3 separate regions of the Homo sapiens genome follow, and all the other regions are linked to region 1. Evidence: promoter capture Hi-C in 16 types of primary human blood cells and fetal thymus (Javierre and others, 2016). All regions are on one chromosome and are shown on one strand. Each heading gives the region's core, a stretch centred on a gene start or on the middle of the fragment in contact. The rest is flanking DNA. Distances are from core to core; before and after follow the strand shown. Region 1 holds the start of ATP6V1H (ATPase H+ transporting V1 subunit H). Region 2 has its middle 30 kb from the start of MRPL15. Region 3 holds the start of LYPLA1-TCEA1 (LYPLA1-TCEA1 readthrough).

The links. Contacts are between HindIII fragments. The CHiCAGO score rates a contact against its expected background, and 5 or more counts as called.
Region 2: a contact is called between a fragment that was not itself captured here and the fragment with the promoter of ATP6V1H in region 1, in 14 of 17 cell types (M2 macrophages, M0 macrophages, M1 macrophages and 11 more). The highest score is 14.7, in M2 macrophages.
Region 3: a fragment that was not itself captured here is called in contact with the fragment with the promoter of ATP6V1H in region 1 in 1 of 17 cell types (neutrophils); the score reaches 7.2 in neutrophils.

Annotation. Positions count from the first base shown.
Region 1 is chr8:53,841,164-53,845,409 of GRCh38, reverse strand. It overlaps ATP6V1H (ATPase H+ transporting V1 subunit H), which reads left to right and starts at 2,165. Exons shown (of 14, transcript NM_015941.4): 1 at 2,165-2,376; 2 at 3,685-3,832. The coding sequence starts at 3,720. RefSeq lists enhancers at 730-779, 2,077-2,216 and a silencer at 1,857-2,006. The HindIII fragment of the contact is 7,596 bases long and covers 1-4,246 here.
Region 2 is chr8:54,162,654-54,166,899 of GRCh38, reverse strand. No RefSeq gene overlaps it. Among named protein-coding and RNA genes, the nearest start is that of MRPL15, 30 kb to the right of the region's middle. RefSeq lists an enhancer at 1,184-1,233. The HindIII fragment of the contact is 2,721 bases long and covers 935-3,655 here.
Region 3 is chr8:54,101,691-54,105,936 of GRCh38, reverse strand. LYPLA1-TCEA1 (LYPLA1-TCEA1 readthrough) reads left to right here and starts at 3,990. Exons shown (of 21, transcript NM_001425842.1): 1 at 3,990-4,182. LYPLA1 (lysophospholipase 1) reads left to right here and starts at 3,990. Exons shown (of 9, transcript NM_006330.4): 1 at 3,990-4,182. The coding sequence starts at 4,114. RefSeq lists a silencer at 3,867-4,246. The HindIII fragment of the contact is 2,057 bases long and covers 675-2,731 here.

The DNA.
Region 1 (4,246 bases), core at 916-3,415:
TTCACGATAGGGTTCATGCTTCTGTGAAAATCTACTACCGCTGCTGATCTGACAGGAGGCAGAGTTTAGGCGGTAATGGGGCTTGCCCGCCGCTCACCTCCTGCTGTGCAGCCGGGTTCCTAACAGGCCATGGACCACACCAGTCTGTGGCCCAGGGTATGGGGACCCCAGGTATGTTATATAATTAGGTAACTGAGATCACCGCTATGGTCTGTGTCTCCCCAAAATTCCTGTGTTGAAATCCTAACTCCCAAGGTGATGATATTAGGAGGTGGGACCTTTGGGAAATGATCAGGTCATGAGGGTGGAGCTCTCATGAATGAAATTAATGTCCTTATGAAAGAGACCCCAGAGAGCTCTCTCACCTCTCCACCATGTGAAGCTACAATGAGAAGACAGCAGTTTGCAACCTGGGACAATCCTTCCCAGAACCTCACCATGATAGCACCCCAATTCTGAACTTTCAACCTCCAGAACTGTGAGAAAATGACTTTCTGTTGTTTATAAGCCACCCAGTCTACAGCACTGTTACAGGAGCCTGAATGGACCAAGAAAAATCTCCGATAGAAGTGTTACAGAAATAATGTTAAGAGAGATAATGCCGGGAGTACCTGCCTCTTCTCTTCTCCCTACTCCAGGCAAATTGTCTGGTAATGTTGTGATGCTCGGAGAACGCCAGCCCAGGTGCCTGTGAAGCAGTCCCCTCTGCTCACTGCACTGTTCCTGATTTTGTTCCATAACTTTGTGCCTCTAGGAAAAGAGGAGAGCCTCCCGAAATCTGATGAGACTCGCTGTATCACGCCAGTCTGTGGCTTAGGTGATACAGAAAGGAAATGCGAAGATCAGGCCTCACTGCCAGCTTTGCTCAGTTACACAGAAAACATGCTGTTTCAGCTTTTGGGAGTTTCTTAGTACACGATCGGTTTCTTTTTCTCTTTTATGAAAGTTTTTCCCCTTAGATTTGCTTTCAAAACAACAGACTTTCACTTCTGGCTAAGACAGAATGAGTGACCTAGTACAATCTTTGACACTGTTATTATATATCTTTATTCATAATCAATGCATGATTTTGATTATTCTGACTTTAATTTTACGAGTAAAAATGGGTTGGTTATAAATCCCTTTCAAAGAATTTTTTTTTTTTCTTTTTGAGACGGAGTTTTGCTTTTTCTGCCCAGGCTGGAGTACAATGGTGCGGTCTTGGCTCACTGCAACCTCTGCCTCCTGGGTTCAAGTGATTTTCCTACCTCAGCCTCCCAAGCAGCTGGGATTACAGGCATGCGCCACCACACCCAGCTAATTTTTTGTATTTTTAGTAGAGATGGGGTTTCACCATGTTGGTCAGCTGGTCTCGAACTCCAGACCTCAGGTGATCCACTGGCCTCGGCCTCCCAAAGTGCTGGGATTACAGGAGTGAGCCACCGCGCCCGGCCCCTTTCATTGCTTTTTAAGGAAAACATGCTATCATATATACTTCACCTCCAGGGCAGTACATTCTTACTTTAAGGCAAAGACAGTTGCTGAGGCCTGGACTAGGGGAAAATTTGGGCTCCAGATGGGACTGTTGGATAAAATACCAGACGTCCTGTAAATGTGAATTTTAGATAAACAACGAATAACTTTTTAGTATAAAAGTAAATACTGCAATGGAATTTATTATTTGCTAAATGTGCAACCCTAGGTTAAGAGAGCTTTTCAGACCCACTTCTCAGCCCGAGTTTTCTATTTAAAATCAGAATAAGAACGCCTGCTTCATGGAGCTGTTAAATCCAAATGGAAATTAATTTGAAAGCGCGAAATCAAACTTTTCAAAAGAATGACGGTTACAATAAGAGCGTTTTGGCCTCTGCTAGCTGCTTCCGGGCGGAGGTCCTCGGCCTCCCCTAGGCGAGGCACTAGGTCTGGGGGCGGCGGGTCTTAGCGTGCCCGCCACGCTCGCCGCCTCCCACCTGCCCTGGCTGGCTGGGGCCCGACCCTTGCGTCGCTCCGGGGCCCAAGTTACGGACTCGGGAATCCAGTTGTCCGCACCGAACAAGCCCCGCCGCAGCGCCCGCCCCTCCTCTTGCTGCTTTGGAGTCTCCCGGCTTCCGCCTTCCGCAGCAGTCACGTGCCTCCGATCACGTGACCGGCGCCTCTGTCATTCTACTGCGGCCGCCCTGGCTTCCTTCTACCTGTGCGGCCCTCAACGTCTCCTTGGTGCGGGACCCGCTTCACTTTCGGCTCCCGGAGTCTCCCTCCACTGCTCAGACCTCTGGACCTGACAGGAGACGCCTACTTGGCTCTGACGCGGCGCCCCAGCCCGGCTGTGTCCCCGGCGCCCCGGACCACCCTCCCTGCCGGCTTTGGGTGCGTTGTGGGGTCCCGAGGATTCGCGAGGTAAGGCCGCCCTCGCGTTGTTTGGTCTCAGGCTGCAGACCAGGTCAGGCGACTCTTGCAGTTTCTCCAGCTTGCCTGGTGCGTGCTGGTGTCTCGCCGCTTGGTCCTCTCCTGTTCTTCGGCCCCCGGTTGCCAGATTGCTTTTCTTCCAGGCCTCAACCAGGTTTATTAAGCGAAATTCTGGAGCCTTTCTCGCAGGGGGAAGAAACGTCAGGGGCGGGCAGGAGAGTGGAGGGGGAGGGGTAAAAAGTATACCTTCTCCAGGACTGGGCCACGGCCCTGGATCGCTGGGGGTGCGAGTAGTTCAGGGACTTAGGTAATTGTCTAGAGACACCTTGAGCTACGCCAGGACGGGCCGCTGAGGCTGAGCCTCCTTGGCTGCAGAGTTCCAGCCTGGCCCAGTTGAAGCCTGTTTTTTCCTGGGCCCTGTCGTTCGCGCTGCCCAGGGTTGTTTATACAGCAAATCTTCAGATACAGAGATTAAGTTCCAAATTGATTAAGATCGTTGGAAACCCGGAATATAATTTTGGGTAGGATTTTAACTTCTTTGTGGCCATGGCCGTGAATTTATGTTTTGCAAGTGGCAACCTGTATTTTGCTTTGTGTTAAAATCAGTCGTTTGTATCTGGAAGTTTAGGAGTGAGAATTACATAGAATTTCATTATTGTAGGTTCTTGTCGTCCAGCCAGACCGCCATTGTTGGCTTACCTAAATTGTAATATGTATTTGTTCTAAAACTTTCTCTCCGAATTTTGATTTTGCAAATACTATGAATTTTGTTTGAAAAGGAAAGCACTGTCTTCTAAGAAATTATGTTCCCACTTTGTGTATTTTAATTTGAGTAATTTTCGAAAGGACTTAGAATTTTTAATGTGCCACTTCAAAATGATGCTTAGTAAATGTTTATAAAACTAGCCTTATCCGTACTATTCATATTCTTATTGTTTCTCTATGAGAAAAGTTAACCACAATTGTATAAATTTACAATTTTTCCCATATTTATACCTATTCTATTTAATCATGATTTCTGATTTCAGTATATTAGGTGATTGCTTTAAAAATCTTACTGCAGTGTTAGTGCCAATAATGAAAAAAATTTTTCTAGAAAAGCAAAAGCCTAAAGAACTCTTTTATGGAGCAGTGGACAATATTTGAAATATAATGATACTTTCAGACTTAGGACATTTAATATTTGAGTTGAATGCCTGGGGAGATTAAAGTGATCACGATATTCATAATCATAATATTAATAGTTGTAAAAAAAAGAAACACCTCGTATTCTGTTTTTACCTTGCATCAAAATTGAAGATTTGTTGAAAGACATTCAAGATTACGAAGTTTAGATGACCAAAATGGATATCCGAGGTGCTGTGGATGCTGCTGTCCCCACCAATATTATTGCTGCCAAGGCTGCAGAAGTTCGTGCAAACAAAGTCAACTGGCAATCCTATCTTCAGTAAGTACCAATTTGCTGTGAATCATGGACAGTCATATGCTTTTGCATCAGACTTTTTCATGGTCATGCTTCTATGAGAGAAATACAGGGAAAATACTGAAAAATGTGGAAGAAACACTTCCTCTTCAGAATAATTAGCTGTCTTAGGGAGTTAAGTGTAGTGGGGTGGAAACAGCTTGGCGCCCTAGTGGGGAAGCAGAGCGGCTTATGGTGCTTTTGACCTTCTCTGGCTGCCTGGGGAAGTACTTTTGGAATAAGTGGGAAACATAGGAGGAATGTCCTTGGGCTAACGGAGGGAGGAAGGGGATGAGGGGCAAAACCTGCTAGACTGGTCTGATATGCCCTGGCAATCAGCATGGGGGCAGGTGGCCTTTTTAGAGTGGTGCATACAACTAATAAGAAGCACAGATATTT
Region 2 (4,246 bases), core at 1,046-3,545, 320 kb before region 1:
CTGTATTTTAATGATTTGTTCCCTTAATTACCTGTTCCCTTCTCCTGGTCTCTGTATGCCCATGGGGCAATAACTCTACCTTTCTAATTTTAATATCTCCTGGCCGGGTGCGGTGGCTCACTCCTGTAACCCCAGCACTTTGGGAGGCCAAGGTGGGCTGATCATGAGGTCAGAAGTTTGAGAGGAGCCTAGCCAACATGGTGAAACCCTGTCTCTACAAAAATACAAAAATTAGCCAGGCGTGGTGGCGTGCATCTGTAATCCCAGCTACTCAAGAGGATGAGGCCAGAGAATCACTTCAACCCGGAGGTGGAGGTTGCAGTGAGCTGAGATGGTGCCATTGCACTCCAGCCTGGGCGACAGAGCGAGACTCCGTCTCAAAAAAAAAATTTTTGTTTATTATCTCCAGTGTCCAGCATTGTGTCCTGTGTGTATTTCAGGTTTGTTGAATTATAAATTCATGAATAACTAATTATCCCAATTAATTGTAGGGCAAAGATCAAACCTAGAAATTCCCTGAGGAATGTTCCCATTTGGTCAGTAGGTGGCAGTCTTGCCTATTTTGAGCCGGCTACATTCACTTCGTGATAACAAAACCTACTTTTCCACTCGAGGGAAAAGGAGGATGATTTGGAGCGCTCCAGAGCTGGAAGGCTTCTCAGGGGTCATTGCTCATGACTTCCGTGGGTCCCTTACTCTAGTCTGTCAAAGCAGAAGTCAGCATTTCACTCTCGATAACTACTGCATACAAGTAACCAAGAGACTACTGGCTCAATGAGGAAAAAGGCGTGGACACCCCTTCAACTCAGCATTTGAGAAAAGTGAGACAAGTGCCTGCTCAAAGGCGCTTGGTGTGCAATAGTGTGTCCCAGGCTATCAGCATGCAGGCAGTGATGGCAGATACACGCCCTGAGAGTGAAGCCACAGCGAAGCTTCGACAGCAGGGGCCAGCGGCGAGTCATGAGGGGAATATAATGGCAGCTTCTCTAACTCCGGACAATATCCAGCAGCAGCTAACACTTTCTCATTCTCCAGTTAATGCAATAAAATTGCAGAGATGCTACATACGGTATTAATAGGAAGCAATAAGTATGCATTAGAATAACTCCTTTCCCAGTGTCAGGTTATTCTGACCAATGTGACTCCAGAGAGGAACTAGGCTCGCTATCAGCAACACTGAGCTACAGCTGGCTGGACTGGGCTATGGCCTAAAATTCTCTGTCACATCTCCCTGTGCAAGACAGCAAATTTCTACCTCTGCCTCCAGCAACTTTTGTACACAGAACAATGACCCAATCCCTCCTGAGAACTGTCCCACCTACATACGGGAGAAGCAATAAAAAGAGACCCAGCCTCCCCAGGAATTTCTCTGGGCCAGAGTCACTCCTTATATTTAAGACAGTCAGCAGTTTATAACACCTGCTGCATTATAAATCTTAGTCCTCCAAACCAGTGGTCTTTCATCTTAAAATCAGTTGAGTGATGATTTGATGTCAATGTAATATTGAAGTCAGGGAAGAGAAATAACCACAAACCTCTGCTTGATATGAGAAGGCACTGTGAAGGAAAATGTTTAGGACTTACAGAAAGTACACAAGAAAAATGTATAGAATCCTTATGTTGGCAGACTGGATGTCAATTTATGGCATTTGCACATAGTATGTCTACTATTCTAGTTTTATTTTAAATGTAAGTTTCTTTACATTAAAAAAAATGTTTTGGGGAGGGCACGGTGACTCATGCCTATAATTCAAGCACTTTGGAAGGCCGAGGCAGGTGGATTGCTTGAGGCCAGGAGTTCAAGACCAGCCTGGCCAACATGGAGAAACCCCATCTCTACTAAAAATACAAAAGTTAGCCAGGGGTGGTGGCATGTGCCTGCAATCCCAGCTACTCGAGAGGCTAAGGTGGGAGAATTGCTTGAACCCAGGAGGCAGAGGTTGCAGTAAGCCAAGATCACACCACTGCACTCCAGCTTGGACGACAGAGCGAGACTCTGTCTCAAATTTTAAAAAATTGAAATATTTTAAAGTTTTGGTTTATAAATATTCTTATGGTAATATAAAAGGTATCTTTTACCACGTGCAGAGCAAATGACTAAATCAGAAATGAATAAGACAACAGTCCCAACCCAAAATAAAAAAGGCTTATAACAGGCCTGGCATGGTGGCTTACACCTGTAATCCCAGCACCATGAGAGGCCGAGGCTGGTGGATTGCTTGAGTCCAGGAGTTTGAGACCAGCCTGGGACACATTGTGAAACCTCACCTCTATTAAAAATACAAAAAATTAGCAAGTCATGGTGATGCTTGCCCATAGTCCCAGCTACTCGAGAAGCTGAGGTGGGAGGATCACCTGAGCCCAGGAGGTTTAGGCTGCAGTGAGCTGAGATGGCACCACTGCACTCCAGCCTGGACAACCAGAGTGAGATCCTGTCTCAAGAAATATAAAAAATAAATAAAAGAATTATAAGAGAACACTGTGACCAGCCTAACCAACATGGTGAAACTCCATCTCTACTAAAAATACAAAAATTAGCTGGGCATGGTGGTGCATGCATGCAGTCCCAGCTACTCGGGAGGCTGAGGCAGAAGGATGGCTGGAACCCGGGAGGCAGAGGTTGCAGTGATCCCAGATCATGCCACTTGCACTCCAGCCTGGGTGACAGAGCACATTTCTGTCTCAAAAATAAAATAAAATAATAAAAATAAAGAGAACACTGTGAAAAATTGTGTGCCAACCAATTAGATAACCTAGTTGAAATGGATAAATTACTTGACAGACACAAACTACAAAAACAGACTCAAGAAGAGTAGAAAATCACAGAAAAAAAGAGAAATAAAAAAGAATAGAAAATCTGAAAAGATGTATAACAAGAGAATTATTAATCAAAAACTTCCCACAAAGAATAGCCCAGGGTCAGATGACTTCACTGGTGAATTCTACCAAATATTTAAAGAATTAATGCCAATTCTTCAAAAATTCTTCAAAAAAAAAAAGAGGAGGAAACACTTCGAAATCATTCTATTTGCCTAGTATAACACTGATACCAAAGACATCACAAAAAACTACAAATATATTTTAAATGATACATGCAAAACTCAACAAAATACAAGCAATCCAAATTCAGCAACATATAAAAGAGGATTATATACTATGACCAAGTGGAATTTATCCCAGGTATACAAGGTTGGTTTAATATCTGAAAATCTATCAATGTAATACACCAAATTAATAGAATAAAAGACAAAAACACATACTGATAAGAGATAGCCCATGTTCATGGATTAGACGACTTTTTTTTTTGAGACATGGTCTCACTTTGTCACTCAAGGTGGAGTACAGTGGCACAATCATGGCTCACTGCAGCCTCAACCTCCAGGGCTCAAGGGATTCACCTTAGCCTCTGCCTGTCCCTCAGGTACCTGAGACTATAGGCATGTTCCACCAGCTAATTTTTTATTTTTTACTTTTTTGTAAAGATGGAGTTTCACTATGTTGCCTAGGCTGGTCCCAAACCCCTGGGCTTAAGTGATCCTCCCACTTTGGTCTCCCAAAGTGCTGGAATTACAGAAGTGAGCCACCATGTCTGGCTAGAAGACTTAGTATTGTTAAAATAGCCATATTCTCTGAATTGATCTACAAATTTAAAGCTTGCATTTATCAAAATGCAAGCTGCCATTTTTGCAGAAATTGGCAAGGTGATTCTCAAATTTGTATGGAAATTCAAGGGGCCCAGAGGAGTCAAAACCATCTTGAAAAAGAAGAATAAGGCTAGGATTTCTTATTTTCAAAACTTACTACAAAACTACAGTAATCAAGACTGTATAAGACTTTATGTATCAAGTGTATAAAGTTAGACATATATAGCTCAATGGCACTTATGGCCAACTGATTTTCTACAAAGATACAAGACAATTCAATGGGAACAGAATATTTCTTTTCAGTAAATGTTGCTGGGACAACTTGATACCACATGCAAAAGAATAAAGTTGGACTCTTGCCTCACATCACATACAAACATTAACTCAAAAGTATTAAATGCTCAAATGAAAAGCTAAAGCTAGAAAACAGAGAATTTTAAGACCTAGGAGTAAATCTGCATGACTTAGCATTAGGTAATCATAACTTAGATGTGACAACAAAACCACAGGCAAAAAAAAAAAAGAAAAAATAGATAATTTAGACTTCATTGAAATTAAAAACTTTTGTTTATTAAAAGACACTGTCAAGAAAGTGAAAAGAC
Region 3 (4,246 bases), core at 454-2,953, 260 kb before region 1:
TGAATCCCACTATTATCATTTTCAGTAAATTGTCATCAATTTAAAACTTTTGGAGAATCCACAAAATTCTCATTGTCCAAATCCAATCCACAAGAATGATTAAAAACAGTGTGAATAAGACCTCAAATCCTTCAGAACGCTGATATTACAGGAAAGGGGTCCCAATCCAGACCCCAAGAGAGGGTTCTTGGATCTCACGCAAGAGAGAATTCAGGGCAAGTCCATACAGTAAAGTGAAAGCAAGTTTATTAAGAAAGTAAAGAAATAAAAGAATGGCTACTCCATAGCTGGTTGCCCATTTTTATGGTTATTTCTTGATGTTATGCTAAACAAGGGGTGGATTATTCATGCCTCCCCTCTTTAGACCATATAGGGTAACTTCCTGACATTGCCACAGCACTCGTAAACTGTCATGGCGTTGATGGTGTGTCCAGCATTGGTGGGTTCTTGGTCTCACCGACTTCAAGAATGAAGCTGCGGACCCTCGCGGTGAGTGTTACAGTTCTTAAAGATGGTATGTCTGGAGTTTATTCTTTCTGGTGGGTTCCTGGTCTCACTGGCTTCAGGAGTGAAGCTGCAGACCTTCGCAGTGAGTGTTATAGCTCTTAAAGGCACTGCGGACCCAAAGAGTGAGCAGCAGCAAGATTTATTGCAAAGAGCAAAAGAACAAAGCTTCCACAGTGTGTAACGGGACCCGAGTGGGTTGCCACTGCTGGCTCAGGCAGCCTGCTTTTATTCCCTTATCTGGCCCCATCCACATCCTGCTGATTGGTCCATTTTACAGAGAGCTGACTGGTCCATTTTGACAGGGTGCTGACTGGTGCATTTACAATCCCTGAGCTAGACACAAAAGTTCTCCAAGTCCCCACTAGATTAGCTAGACACAGAGCGCTGATTGGTGCATTTACAAACCTTGAGCTAGACACAGGGTGCTGATTGGTGTGTTTAACAAACCTTGAGCTAGACACAGAGTGCTGATTGGTGTTATTTACAATCCCTTAGCTAGACATAAATATTCTCCACGTCCCCACCAGATTAGCTAGATACAGAGTGCTGATTGGTGCATTTACAAACCTTGAGCTAGACACAGAGTGCTGATTGGTGTATTTACAATCCTTTAGCTAGACATAAAGGTTCTTCAAGTCCCCACCAGATTAGCTAGATACAGAGCGCTGATTGGTGCATTTACAAACCTTGAGCTAGACACAGGGTGCTGATTGGTGTGTGTACAATCCTCTAGCTAGACATAAAAGTTCTTCAAGTCCCCACTAGACTCAGGAGCCCAGCTGGCTTCACCTAGTGGATCCTGCACTGGGGCCGCAGGCAGAGCTACTTGCCAGTCCCACGCCGTGGGCCTGCACTCCTCAGCCCTTGGGCGGTCGATGGGACCAGGTGCCGCGGAGCAAAGGGAGGTGCTGGTCAGGGAGGCTTGGGCCACGCAGGAGCCCACGGCGGGGGCGGGGGAGGCTCAGGTATGGCGGGCTGCAGGTCCTGAGCCCTGCCCCGCGGGGAGGCGGCTGAGGCCCGGGGAGAATTCCAGCGCAGTGAGGGCGGGCCCACAGTGCCGGGGGACCTGGTGCCCCCTCCGCAGCTGCTGGCCCAGGTGCTAAGCCCGCCGAGCCCACGCCCACCCGGAACTTGCTCTGGCCCCGGTTCCCACGGACACCTCTCCCTCCACACCTTTCTGCAAGCAGAGGGAGCTGGCTCTGGCCTGCGCCAGCACAGAGTGGCTCCCACAGTGCAGCGGCGGGCCGAAGGGCTCCTCAAGTGTGGCCAGAGCAGACACCGAGGCCGAGGAGGTGCTGAGAATGAGCGAGGACTGCTAGCGCGTTGTTATCTCTCAATGAGAGTGCAGTAGTGAGGATGACCAGAGTTCACTCTCATTGCCATCTTAGTTTTGGTGGGTTTTGGCCGGCTTCTTTACTGCATCCTGTTTTATCAGCAAGATCTTTATAAGCTATATTTTGCGCTGACGTTCTATCTCATCCTGTGACTTAGAATGCCTTAACCGTCTGGGAATGCAGCCCAATAGGTTTCAGCCTTACTTTACTCAGCCCCTATTTAAGATGGAGTTGCTCTGGTTCACACGCCTCTGACACTGGTTACCGTGTGAAAGAAATGGAGTGTTGTTTTTTTTACAGCTTTCTTCCGAACCTTACTCTCTAAGGATGGTATCCAGTATGTCCTTTTTTTTTTCAGATGGAGTCCTGCTCTGTTGCCCAGGCTGGAGTGCAGTGGTACTATCTTGGCTCACTGCAAGCTCCGCCTCCTGGGTTCATGCCATTCTCCTGCCTTAGCCTCCCGAGTAGCTGGGACTACAGGCAACCACCACCACACCCAGCTAATTTTTTTTTTTTTTTGTATTGTTAGTAGAGACGGGTTTTCACCGTGTGAGCCAGGATGGTCTCAATCTCCTGACCTCGTGATCCGCCCACCTCGGCCTCCCAAAGTGCTGGGATTACAGGTTTGAGCCACTGCGCCCGGCCTCCAGTATGTCCTTCACTGAATTGTAAACTTCTGAAGGTCAGGGCATTTTGGCTTTAAGTGTTTCTATCTTGTGCTCTCTTCCAGATCTTACCATGTAGTTGATATGCAACACATTTGTTGAGTAACTACATTTTAGGCCATAAAGGCACCTGTGCAGAAAAGGGCAGTCTAGTCTCATGCTTATGTGTCCAGAGTTGGTTCCTTCCGGTGGGTTCATGGTCTCGCTGACTTCAAGAATAAAGCTTGTCACCTTCGTGGTGAGTGTTACAGTTTTTTTTTTTTTTTTTTTTTTTTTTTGAGACAAGGTCTCTCTCTGTCTCCCAGGCTGGAGTGCAGTGACGCGATCTCAGGTCACTACAAGCTCTGCCTCTCAGGTTCACGCCATTCCCCTGCCTCAGCCTCCCAAGTAGCTTGGACTACACGACCGGCCAATTTTTTTTTTTTGTATTTTTAGTAGAGACGAGGTCTCACCGTGTTAAGGCAGGATGGTCTCGATCACCTGACCTCCTGATCCACCCGCCTCGGCCTCCCAAAGTGCTGGGAGTGTTACAGCTCTTAAAGGTCCCACAGACCCAAAGAGTGAGCAGCAGCAGCAAGATTTATTGTGAAGAGTGAAAGAACAAACTTTCCACAGTGTGGAAGGGGACCCAGGGCTGCCACTGCCAGCTAGGGGATGGGGGGCGTGGCCAGCTTTTATTTCCTTATTTGTCCCGGCCCAAGTCCTGCGGATTGGTCCACTTTACAGAACACTGATTAGCCCGTTTTACAGGGTACTGATTGGTGCATTTTACAAACCTCTAGCTAGCCACAAAGTGCTGATTGGTGCATTTTACAATCCTAGCTACAGAGTGCTGTTGGTACATTTTACAATCCTCTTGTAAGACAGAAAAGTTCTCCAAGTCCCCAACCGACCCAGAAGACCAGCTGGCTTTACCTCTCACTTAAACCTGTACTGTGTCAATATCCGTACATCAGTAAGTGTTGTCGATCAAGTTAGGGAAGTAGTGGATTTCTGGTGACAAATGTTACCCTTTCCAACTAAAGTTTAAAGAAGGTAAGTTGAACCCAAATCTACATACTGCTGTAGCCCCAAACGGAAATACTGCAAAAGCTCCATCAACGTCTCCCAGTCCATCCAGACTTTTACAAATGGATAGACCCCGGCCGCAGGAAACCAAGGAGCACCTGGGGTTGGGTTGGGTGAATTGGCTCTGGGGCTCATTCTTTTCACTACAGCGCCAGAAAAGCAAAAACCTAAACCAAGACCCAAGAGACCAGCCCTCAGCCTGCACCTGAGAGCACATTTTCCCTAGCCAGCACTGAGCATGCGCAGGCTGCGTGGTGTGGCGAAAGCGCAGCCAGGTCCGCGCTGCCGCCGCAGCCAATCGGAGGGAGGGAGCCGCCCGGACATTGTGAGGTGCCGAGGGAGGGGCGGCGGGCGAGGGGCAGGGCAGGGCGGACCCTGGACGCGCGGGCGCGCGCGGAAGGTAGCGCGGGGCCGCGTTGGCGCGCACGCGCCTGAGCGTGCGCCCGGTGGGGCCGGCCGGGACTCGCCGCTCGCACGCCCTTGGGCCGCGGCCGGGCGCCCGCTCTTCCTTCCGCTTGCGCTGTGAGCTGAGGCGGTGTATGTGCGGCAATAACATGTCAACCCCGCTGCCCGCCATCGTGCCCGCCGCCCGGAAGGCCACCGCTGCGGTGAGTGGCGTAGGCGTGGGCTCGGAGGGGTCCACTGGGCCGGCCACCGGTGGTTGCCCCTCGC